Regions from separate parts of the Homo sapiens genome. Here region 1 is linked to region 2. Evidence: promoter capture Hi-C in human tissues and cell types (Jung and others, 2019). All regions are on one chromosome and are shown on one strand. The core of a region is centred on a gene start or on the middle of the fragment in contact, and the rest is flanking DNA. Distances in the headings are between cores, read along the strand shown. Region 1 overlaps ZFP1 (ZFP1 zinc finger protein). Region 2 holds the start of GABARAPL2 (GABA type A receptor associated protein like 2).

Region 1 (4,762 bases), core at 318-2,817, 400 kb before region 2:
CACACTGGGGAGAAACCTTTCGAGTGTCCGGAATGTGGAAAAGCTTTCACCCACCAGTCAAACCTCATTGTACACCAGAGAGCACATATGGAGAAGAAGCCCTATGAGTGCAGTGAATGTGGAAAGACATTTGCCCAAAAGTTTGAACTCACCACACACCAGAGAATTCATACAGGAGAGCGACCCTATGAGTGTAACGAATGTGCAAAAACCTTCTTTAAGAAGTCAAACCTTATCATACATCAGAAGATTCACACGGGGGAGAAACGCTATGAGTGCAGTGAATGTGGAAAATCCTTTATCCAGAACTCACAGCTCATCATACACATGAGAACTCATACAGGAGAGAAACCCTATGAATGTACTGAGTGCGGCAAAACTTTCAGCCAGAGGTCAACTCTTAGATTACACTTGCGAATCCACACAGGAGAGAAACCATATGAGTGTTCCGAATGTGGGAAGGCCTTTAGCAGGAAGTCCCGACTCAGTGTCCATCAGAGAGTTCACATCGGGGAGAAACCCTGAAACTCCAGCCAGGTCTTACTGTGGAAAACTCCTGCCAGAACTCTTCAAGCGGGTGAAAAACCTCATGACAGTATTGAGGGAACATGGGAATTCATACTGAGATGCAATCTCTCAACTCAAAAATGTATTAAAAATAGGATCCCATGAGAACATTATACTGGAAGTTACATGTGATACCCAGCTAAAGAATACATATCAGAATATATCCAGTTGTAAATAGCCATACCCAGTTGTACTACAATGAGCTTTTTAAAATCTTGAATGAATTGAGTATTCTAGACAGCAGCATAAGAAATATACAAACAGTATCCTATGAATTTAGTGGTTTTATGTGGATATGCCACAAAACACAAGTGGTATGCTTTAGATCTGCACATGTGAATTTAGCATAATCACTGGGAATTTGAAATTCTTGTCCTCTGTGATAATTAGGACATAACAAGATTTTCCATACTAAACATCACATGTGTTTTTCAGTATCTCTGCAATCCAGTATGCATTCCAAATGAAATGTGTAACATTTAAAGTAGCATGGAACCTACGTCTTTCCCTACTGCTTGCTGGCATATATCAGTTGGTATGAACATTGTTCTTGAGCTGCCTCTTAGGAAACAGAAGACAGTGTTGAAGTTTTCCCTGCTTCTGGTTTGCTGAAGATTTTCTAGAAGCACTATTTACACAAATATGCAAATGTGAAATAACCGATCTATAACGTGAAGGAGGCAGACATGAGCTGTACTACTCAGTATGCACCACAGAATAAGAGTTTGCCGTGTAAAGACAATATCCCCATTCGTCATGCTCTTATTTTCCCGTGGGATATTTGCATACAAATGCATGTCTGTTACCAAAATATTGTGTAACACAGACAGAAACCACCTGTTTTTGTCTTTCCTTGTTTCCCTTAATATTTCATGAATTGTCTAGCAAAAATGGTAGGATGCTTCTGTAGTTCACAAATGTTACATTTCAGAGACTTTAGAGGAAAAATTATTTTAAATAACTGTCAACTGTTTCATTGCTTTTTAAATTTTTCACGTGCATAACCCCCTTTAGAAGTAAATTTTTACACTATTTTGTTGTTTAAAGGAGGCATTTCTACTTCCTTGAGTTTTGCTGTTGCCAACCTAAAACATTTCCCTTTGGAACATGAGTTATAAGTTATTACTTTTCCTTTACATGTTTACACTTTTATAAAAATCAGATTTTTCAGTGGTCTCTCCAGATATTAACAAGAATTGTTGTGTAACTCAAAGATTTGCTTTTATAGACTTGATTTCAAATTCTTAAGTTCAGCCTTTCCCTATCAATCACAAATCATGTATTGGAAATTATAAATGGCAACCAAAAACTGGCTTTTAAAAAATATTTTTGGATATCATTGATGTGCTGTCACACTATATATTGAGTGACTTTCTGAACAAATTTATCCAGAACATCCATAGCCCAATAAGCTTTTGTCTAAGTTGTCATCTTACTTACTCACAAAGGAGGGGAAAACGTTATTTTCATAGCTGCTTTTAGAAATGTAAATTGTAACAGCCTCCTTGGACAACATTGTGAGTCTGTTTTAACATTAATATACTCTTACAACCTAGGAATCTCCTGGGAATCTATCCCTAAGGAATAAAAAGCGCCAGCACTTAAGATTATATGTTTACTAATGTATATTGTATTTTTTGGTAAGGACCAAAAAAACAAACAAAAAAAAGACCATCAGTAAGGGAATGGATGAATAAATTGTGGTAAAAACATACCATGGCTGAATGGTATTTCCTTGAAAAGAATGTGTGGGAACAAACTCCAAACTTCTCTAGGTCAAATGAGGAAAGCAAGAGGGGAGAGAGAGAGTGTATGTGTGTGTGTAGCAGTTTTTATAAAATAAAGATAAACCCTTATATATGTGTGTCTTTGTATATGATTTTATGGGCCTGGTGAATAGAATTCCTTCCATTTTTAACCTGTGGACCTCACCAGCTTTATCAGTGAGGGCTTTAGCAGTAAACTGAATTAGCGCCTTATGAAAGGATGACTTGGAGAATGAGAGAAGGATTAAGGGAACAAACAACGGATGGTAAGGAATCCAGAGACCAGCAGTGCCAAGAAGCTGTTGTCTCCCTAGGGACCAAAGGAAGAAATGGTGTTTCAGAGCCCAGTGAGAGCCAAAATGTTGGAAGGTCTCTTTCCTGTAGGAGATAGAAAAATAAAAAGGAAGAGTGTCTCTTAAGTGGATGTTGAAGCTCTACAAAGATGCAGCTACTGTGAGAAACACAGAACTGTCAGGAAAGGGAGCAGAGGGGGAAAAGCCTCAGCTCTTTATTGCTGTCTCCTGAAGATGCCTCCATCAACTGAACCTAATCAGAAGCCCGGGTGATGCCGTCCTCCTGGGATAAAGCAGGGTAGAAAGATGGAGGATGGACCAGGAGGGGAAACAGCACAATCAGCAAATCTCCCATCTCAGTTTCAGCCTTGCTGGTCCGACTGTAATGAGGCTTTCCCAGAAGGACCCTTCTTCCCCTATGGTCATTCCAAGTGGCAACTGTTTGTCTCATGCCTCTTATGCGTTTAGAGGTAAGATGACTGACTCTGAAGCCCAATTTCAGAGGAAATAAAAATTTGGGAGTTGTCACAGGGATAATATTTTAAGCCATAAAGCTAGGTGAGATTACCTAGGAAAAAAAAGTATAAAGAATGTCAAGGACTGAGCCCCGAGCACTCACCCCAGTGTTTGCTGGGCAGGAACTGGCAAATGAAACTGAGAAGGAACCACCAGGGTTAGGGTGAAAACCAGTAGAGGGTGGTATCTGAAGCCAGCTGAAAACACTTATTTTGAAGTAGAAGAGTGGCCACTATATCAAATACTAATAATTTGTATGAAGTTGGATATATGCTGAGATTAACCATCAGTGAGGTCATTTTGAAAAAAACAGTTATAAAGGAGTGGTCAGGGTAAATCTAGGAGGATTCAAGATAAACTTGGAAACAGGAGCTGTGAATAAGGGGCCAAGTGTTAAGGACTGAAAAGTCTGAGATTTTGTCCTACTTGCAAGGTAACAAGTTAAGCTACCAGTTTCATGGATACTGGCAGAAGACATACTGTACTGACCTCGAATACACATTTGCTGGGTGGAGTTACAGGAGGGGAGGTCCAAGTTTAGGGAGCCTGAATCTTAAACAGTGGTCTAGAAGTAAATCTATCAAACCTTTGTCTAGAAGGAAGACATATTATACTGGATGCTAAACAAACTGTTGCTCTGGAGAACGGATTACCTATCTAAGGCTATTCATCCTGAAAACAGCCTGTAACAAAAGCCATCACCATATGTACTTGTAAGATAGTGAGAAACGTGAGAAACCCATGGAGAATTGTCTCCCAACACAGAGAAACGGATGGGTAACTGAAGAGATGGGGGCTTTTGAGGATTTTGGTGTTTTAAAATATTAGAAATTCTAGGATAAATTTATATACTCATGGGAACGATAAGTAGAAAAATTGACGCTGTACGAGAAGAGGAGGAGGAGAATGGACTAGAGCAGAGCCTGAGCAGGTGAAGACACTGGGATCCAGGGTACTAGTGAAGAGGTCAGACGCTGGAGCACCAACCAGGAGGAAGGCAGAGCGTGGGCAGAGAAGATGCTAGAGCTTGTGAGTGTTCTTGTCTGATTGCTTTTATTTCCACTGTTAAACTGAAAACATAGTTATTAGCTGAGAGTGAGGATGGTAGAGGTGGTGTGAGACGTTTGGGGGATAGGGAAGAGTGAAAAAATTAAGGAAATGTACGATACACTAAAGGCCCACTTGAGGTTAGTGGTCATGAGTTTAACATAACATCAATTGTCAGGGTTGTATGTTTTGTTCCAGCCACATTCAGCAGAGTTGGATTTAGCCTGGATTGACTGGTGTGAAATACATGAACCATGGGACTTAAGCTGATTAGGTGAAGAGTCACAACTTCAGAGAGGGAAATCAGCGGGAGTGGTTTCAGCAAGATGGCAGAATAGAACTTTCTAGCACTTGACTCCCTGCAGAAACATCAGTTTGAATAGCTTTCCATGCACAAAATTACCTTCACAAGAGCTAAAGAAACCAAGTAAGAGATCACAGCACCTGGGTATAGTGTAGAAATAAAGGATGCGGCCGGGCGCAGTGGCTCACGCCTATAATCCCAGCACTTTGGCAGGCCAAGGTGGGTGGGTCACCTGAGGTCAGGAATTTGAGACCAGCCTGGCCAACATG
Region 2 (4,933 bases), core at 2,279-4,778:
ATTACGTTGCATATATTCATTATCCTATTTCTCCTCCTGACTTACGTCCTTAACTAACCACTCCCTCAAGGAAGGCATCCAGTGTCCTTAGAACATTCCATAGCTAAATACAATGACCCAATATGTAAAGAAGGTGGTACATATCATCAAGGTGGATGAAATAAGTCAATTAGAATGGTGAACTGGGAAAACACACCAAGAAAGTAGGTAAGGATGGAAGACCAAAATGCATTGCACATCATTGAGACCATCAAAAGACATGTCTATGAATTGGTGTGCAGTGAAATTTTCCCCTAAGAAGTGTTCTCAGCTCTTTCACATGCAAGACAATATACATATATTTTGGACTAGGATGCAATGACCAGCTCTGTAAAGGGAAGCAGGGGTGTTGAGTCCAATTTCTAACTCCTCCACTGGTTCACTGACTAGGAGATGGTGAACAACCATCTTCATTCTTCAGTGTTTAATTCTATTTGTAAAATAGGTATTTTCTTTTTTTGAGACGGAGTTTCGCTCTTGTTGCCCAGGCTGGAGTGGAGTGGCGCGATCTCAGCTCACTGCAACCTCTGCCTCCTAAGTAAAAGCAATTCTCCTGTCTCAGCCTCCCAAGTAGCTGCGATTACAGGCATGTGCCACCATACCTGGCTAATTGTTTTGTATTTAGCAGAGACGGGGTTTCAACACGTTAGTCAGGCTGGTCATGAACTCCTGACTTCAGGTGATCCACCTGCCTCGGCCTCCCAAAGTGCTGGGATTACAGGCATATGCCACTGCACCCGGCCAAGTATTTTCATTTTTAAACTCACTGTCTACCTAATCTTACCCAGTTTAATAGCTTGAAATATTTCTCTCTAAATTTGAGACTCATAGCACCATTCACCAACTCTACATCTTCACTTGTGTATGTCCCTTGGACATCTCATATTTAATATCTCAAAAACCAAACTCTTGTTTTTCACTCCCCAAGCTGGCTCCACCCTATTTCAGTAAATGGCAATTCCATCCTTCCAAAAACCTTGATTTTGATCTGTCCCTCATGTCTTACATCCAATCTATCAGCAACTGTTACCAGTTTTACCTTCGAAATATATCCAGAATACAACTGCTTCCCATCACCTCTGTAGACCCCACCTTGGCCAAAGCCAACATCATCTTTCACCAGGATTATCACAATAGTGTCTCAACTATTTCCCTGCTTCCACCCTCAGCGCCTACAGTCTACTAAGCTAGCCTTTTGAAAAGGAAAGGCAGATTGTGTTACGTCTCTGCTTAAACCCCTACACTGACTTCTCATCTCATTCTAAATAAAATCCAAAGCTCTTTGCATGGAATTCAAAGCTCAACACAGTTTTGTTCTAGATATCTTTGAATTTGTCTCATAACACACTCTCCTCTCTCATTTATTCAGCTCCAGCCACAGGGGTTCCCTAGAATATGCCAGGCACTTTATCTAATTAGCATTCCATCCCACCACACTCTCTAGTCACCTACTGTGCTTTATTTTTCGAAATAGCACCTATCATTACCTAACATACTTATTTTTTGTCTTATCCCACTAGAATATGTCAGGGGGACAAGAATATCTCATGCTGCCACCCATGAGAATAGGGATGTCATCTGTCTTCTTCACTGTTTTTCCCCAGCACCTAGCACAGAGCTCTTGTATGTAACAATAATTTCTAAGTAGGAAATTCAAAGGATTTTTTCCACTTCATTAAAAACAAACAAACAGATGCAGTGGCTCACACCTGTAATCCTAGCACTTTGGGAGGCCGAGGCGGGCAAATCACTTACTTGAGGTGAGAAGTTCAAGACCAGCCTGGCGAACATGACAAAACCCCATCTCTACCAAAAATACAAAAATTAGCTGGGTGTGGTGGTGTGTCCCTGTAGTCCCAGCTACTCAGGAGGCTGAGGCAGCAGAATCGCTTGAACCCAGGAGGCAGACTGCAGTAAGCCAAGATTGTGCCACTGAACTCCAGCCTGGGTGACAGAGAAAGACCCTGTCTCCAAAAAACAAAAACAAAAACAAAGAAACAAAAAAACCTATTCTAGTTACTCAGACACACAGTCTTAAAATAACAAAAATACTTATAGAATGAAGCTAGATTCCACAGCATCGATCAGGAATTTCCAGTGTAGGAAATGATGAACTACCACATTCAAACATACAGGCTTTACAGGTGCATCAGAATCACAAGCACGTGGCAGGGTTCATGTGCCCAATTAAGTGAATATTCCTGCTACATGTTCAGCAGCTTATAAACAGATGGTGACCCAGACCAGACTGCCTTGATGAGTCTGCTTGGAAAAAAGGCATTACATCACTGATTGGAGAACCTCAAAGCATATGTCCGGGCAGGTGACACACACACAGCTCAGGCTGTGATTGCTAAACCACTCCCACAGCCAAATAAGGAAACCCATCTCATGACCAGCTCTCAGGGGAATTCTCCGAGTCTGACAGTCACCTCTAACTCCTCTGCCAGTTAAAATTAAGGGGTCTGTGATCAGTGATGTTACACTCCTCAAATGTGCATTTTTTTTTGAGGCGGAGTCTTGCTCTGTTGCCCAGGCTGGAGTGCAGTGGTGTGATCTCGGCTCACTGCCACCTCCACCTCCCTGGTTCAAACGATTCTCCTGCCTCAGCCTCCCGAGGAGCTGGGACTACAGGCGCCCACTACCATGCCTGGCTAATTTTTGTATTTTTAGTAGAGACGGGGTTTCACCATGTTGGCCAGGCTGGTCTTCAACTCCTGACCTCAGGTGATCCACCCGCGTCGGCCTCCCAAAGTGTTGGGATTACAGGCGTGAGCCACCGTACCCCGCCTCAAATGTGCATTTGTGATACCTTTTCGTAAATGTTTATTCAAATATTTATTCACGAATAAAGGAAGAAAACGGGATTTGTTTAAATTCAATTTCTAGGTCCAAGACAACCTACTACGGCTGTCCCTAATACGGACCTCCGGGTTGTCCTCAGTGCCGCTTCCAACAGTGTCCTCAAACACCCTCCCCTCCCATAATGAGCCCCCAACCTGTCACCACTCCGAGCAATACTCCCCAAACTGTCAACGCCCTAAACAGCTCCCTTGTTATCGCCAAGCTCTAGAAAGCCCTCCTTATGTCATTCTTACCCCTAAAGACCGTTCTTGTCACCAATTCCCCAGACTTCCCCTATGAACCGCTCTAAGAGCCCTCAGCTATCAGCCACACCCCCAAACAGCCCTCAGTAAGAGCCCTACACTATCAGCCAGACGTTTTCCGCCACCAACGCTCCCGAGACCCCACTCCTGTCACCAGTTCCCCGAACATTCCTGCGAGCAATGTCGCAGATACTGCTCACAGACGTCCCCATAACCAACTTCTTCGCCACCGCAGCCCAGGAGCCCCCAAAGGGGTCCTCCGCGGCCCCGCCCCTTTACGTGCGGCCCCGCCCCTTGGCGTGGCGCCCTGACAAATGGCGCCGGAAGCCCCGCCCCCGGCCGGTTGCTAGGCTCCGACAGCCGGAAGTCCCGCCTGCCGTGTAGTCGCCGCCGTCGCTGCCGCTGCCGCTGCCGCCGTCGTTGTTGTTGTGCTCGGTGCGCTGAGCTCCGCGGCTCCGCGAGCCGGTTCCGTCCCCTTCCCGCCGCCGCCATGAAGTGGATGTTCAAGGAGGACCACTCGCTGGGTAAGCACTTGGTCGTCGGCCCGGCTGCTGGGGGCTGGGGCGGCGGGTGGGCCCCCTCCCCCACTCGGGCGGCCCTGGGCCGAGTGGAGCGGGGCGGATGCCCTGCTGCGGGCTGGAGTCGCCCATGCCCTGGTGCCTCGGGCAGCGGCCCCCTGACCCCATGTCACCCTCCGCGGGCCTTGCTGGGAGCTAGTAGGGGACAGGACCGCGGCCCCGGGGACGCCGGAACCAGGGCCTGGGTTGTACGCAGGGCGCAGGAGGAGGAGGGCCGGGGGCCGGGAACCGACCGGTGGGCAGGCGCGGCCGTCAGCCCCGTTTGTTTCTCCCACAGAACACAGATGCGTGGAGTCCGCGAAGATTCGAGCGAAATATCCCGACAGGGTTCCGGTGAGTGGACTCTCCGCCCCCTCACCTCGCTGTCACCTCTGTCGTCTGGGACCCGTGATAGGCCCCAGGCCATTCAACAGTTGACAAGTTGAGGTTCCAGTCCCAGTTACAGTAGCTGACGGGCCAGACCGGGATGAGGCCGCCCAGGGCCGGGGCGTGAGGGGCTCGGGCTGGTGCTGTTCAGGGTGCCTCAGTGCTGAATCTCCCGATCTAGGCCAGCGAGCCGTCTGCAGCCTCGGGGCTCCCTGGCCAATTATGTAAGGAACGATGTTCTAGGACAGGGCAACAGGTCACTGCCACTTTTGGGAATGGTGGTGGAGGGAGACTGTCATTTTGGTCTTGGAAGTGGTACTTGAGTCTCAGGACGTTCATCTTTTACTTTGTCTCCATCTTTACCTAACTTCTAGCTCCGTTATCTCACCTTGACCCTGTCATCCTTGCCTGACCAAAATAATGTGAAAAGCCGCTGAAAACCCCTTCTGCCATATTTTCTTCTTAGTCAATAATAAATATAATGTTATATTTCTTCCATGGTTGGGGAGATAGTTTTGTAATCGTTATTAATTTTTAATGGACATTAAGGCCTGTTATTGTAGCTCTTTGCTTGTGAATAATTTGTCTGGGGAAAGGAGTAGGAGGGACGGATTTGAAACTTGTTCAGAGAGGAGCAACAGGCCAAATGAAGAACTTGGTTCTTGGCTGGCTAAAATTCCAGGCATTCCAATTAGTCCATCCATTCTTGTCTCCTGTGTTCCTTGGGAACACAGTAGTGTTTCCTGTAGTGTGAAGGTGGATCCATTCTGGGGTCCTGGAGTAACGGGCCATGGATGAAACCCTCCCCAGATATTCTTAGGTCTGCCCAGATAAAATGTGGAA

The links. Contacts are between HindIII fragments. The study calls those that stand out against the background at their distance.
Region 1: a fragment that was not itself captured here is called in contact with the fragment with the promoter of GABARAPL2 in region 2 in 1 of the 25 tissues and cell types used here (mesenchymal stem cells).

Annotation. Positions count from the first base shown.
Region 1 is chr16:75,169,810-75,174,571 of GRCh38, forward strand. ZFP1 (ZFP1 zinc finger protein) reads left to right here. Exons shown (of 4, transcript NM_153688.4): 4 at 1-2,425. The coding sequence ends at 525. Among named protein-coding and RNA genes, the nearest start is that of ZFP1, 24 kb to the left of the region's middle. The HindIII fragment of the contact is 4,139 bases long and covers 1-3,637 here.
Region 2 is chr16:75,562,851-75,567,783 of GRCh38, forward strand. It overlaps GABARAPL2 (GABA type A receptor associated protein like 2), which reads left to right and starts at 3,529. Exons shown (of 4, transcript NM_007285.7): 1 at 3,529-3,670; 2 at 4,002-4,057. The coding sequence starts at 3,637. RefSeq lists a silencer at 3,592-4,001 and an enhancer at 3,991-4,744. The HindIII fragment of the contact is 9,271 bases long and covers 1-4,933 here.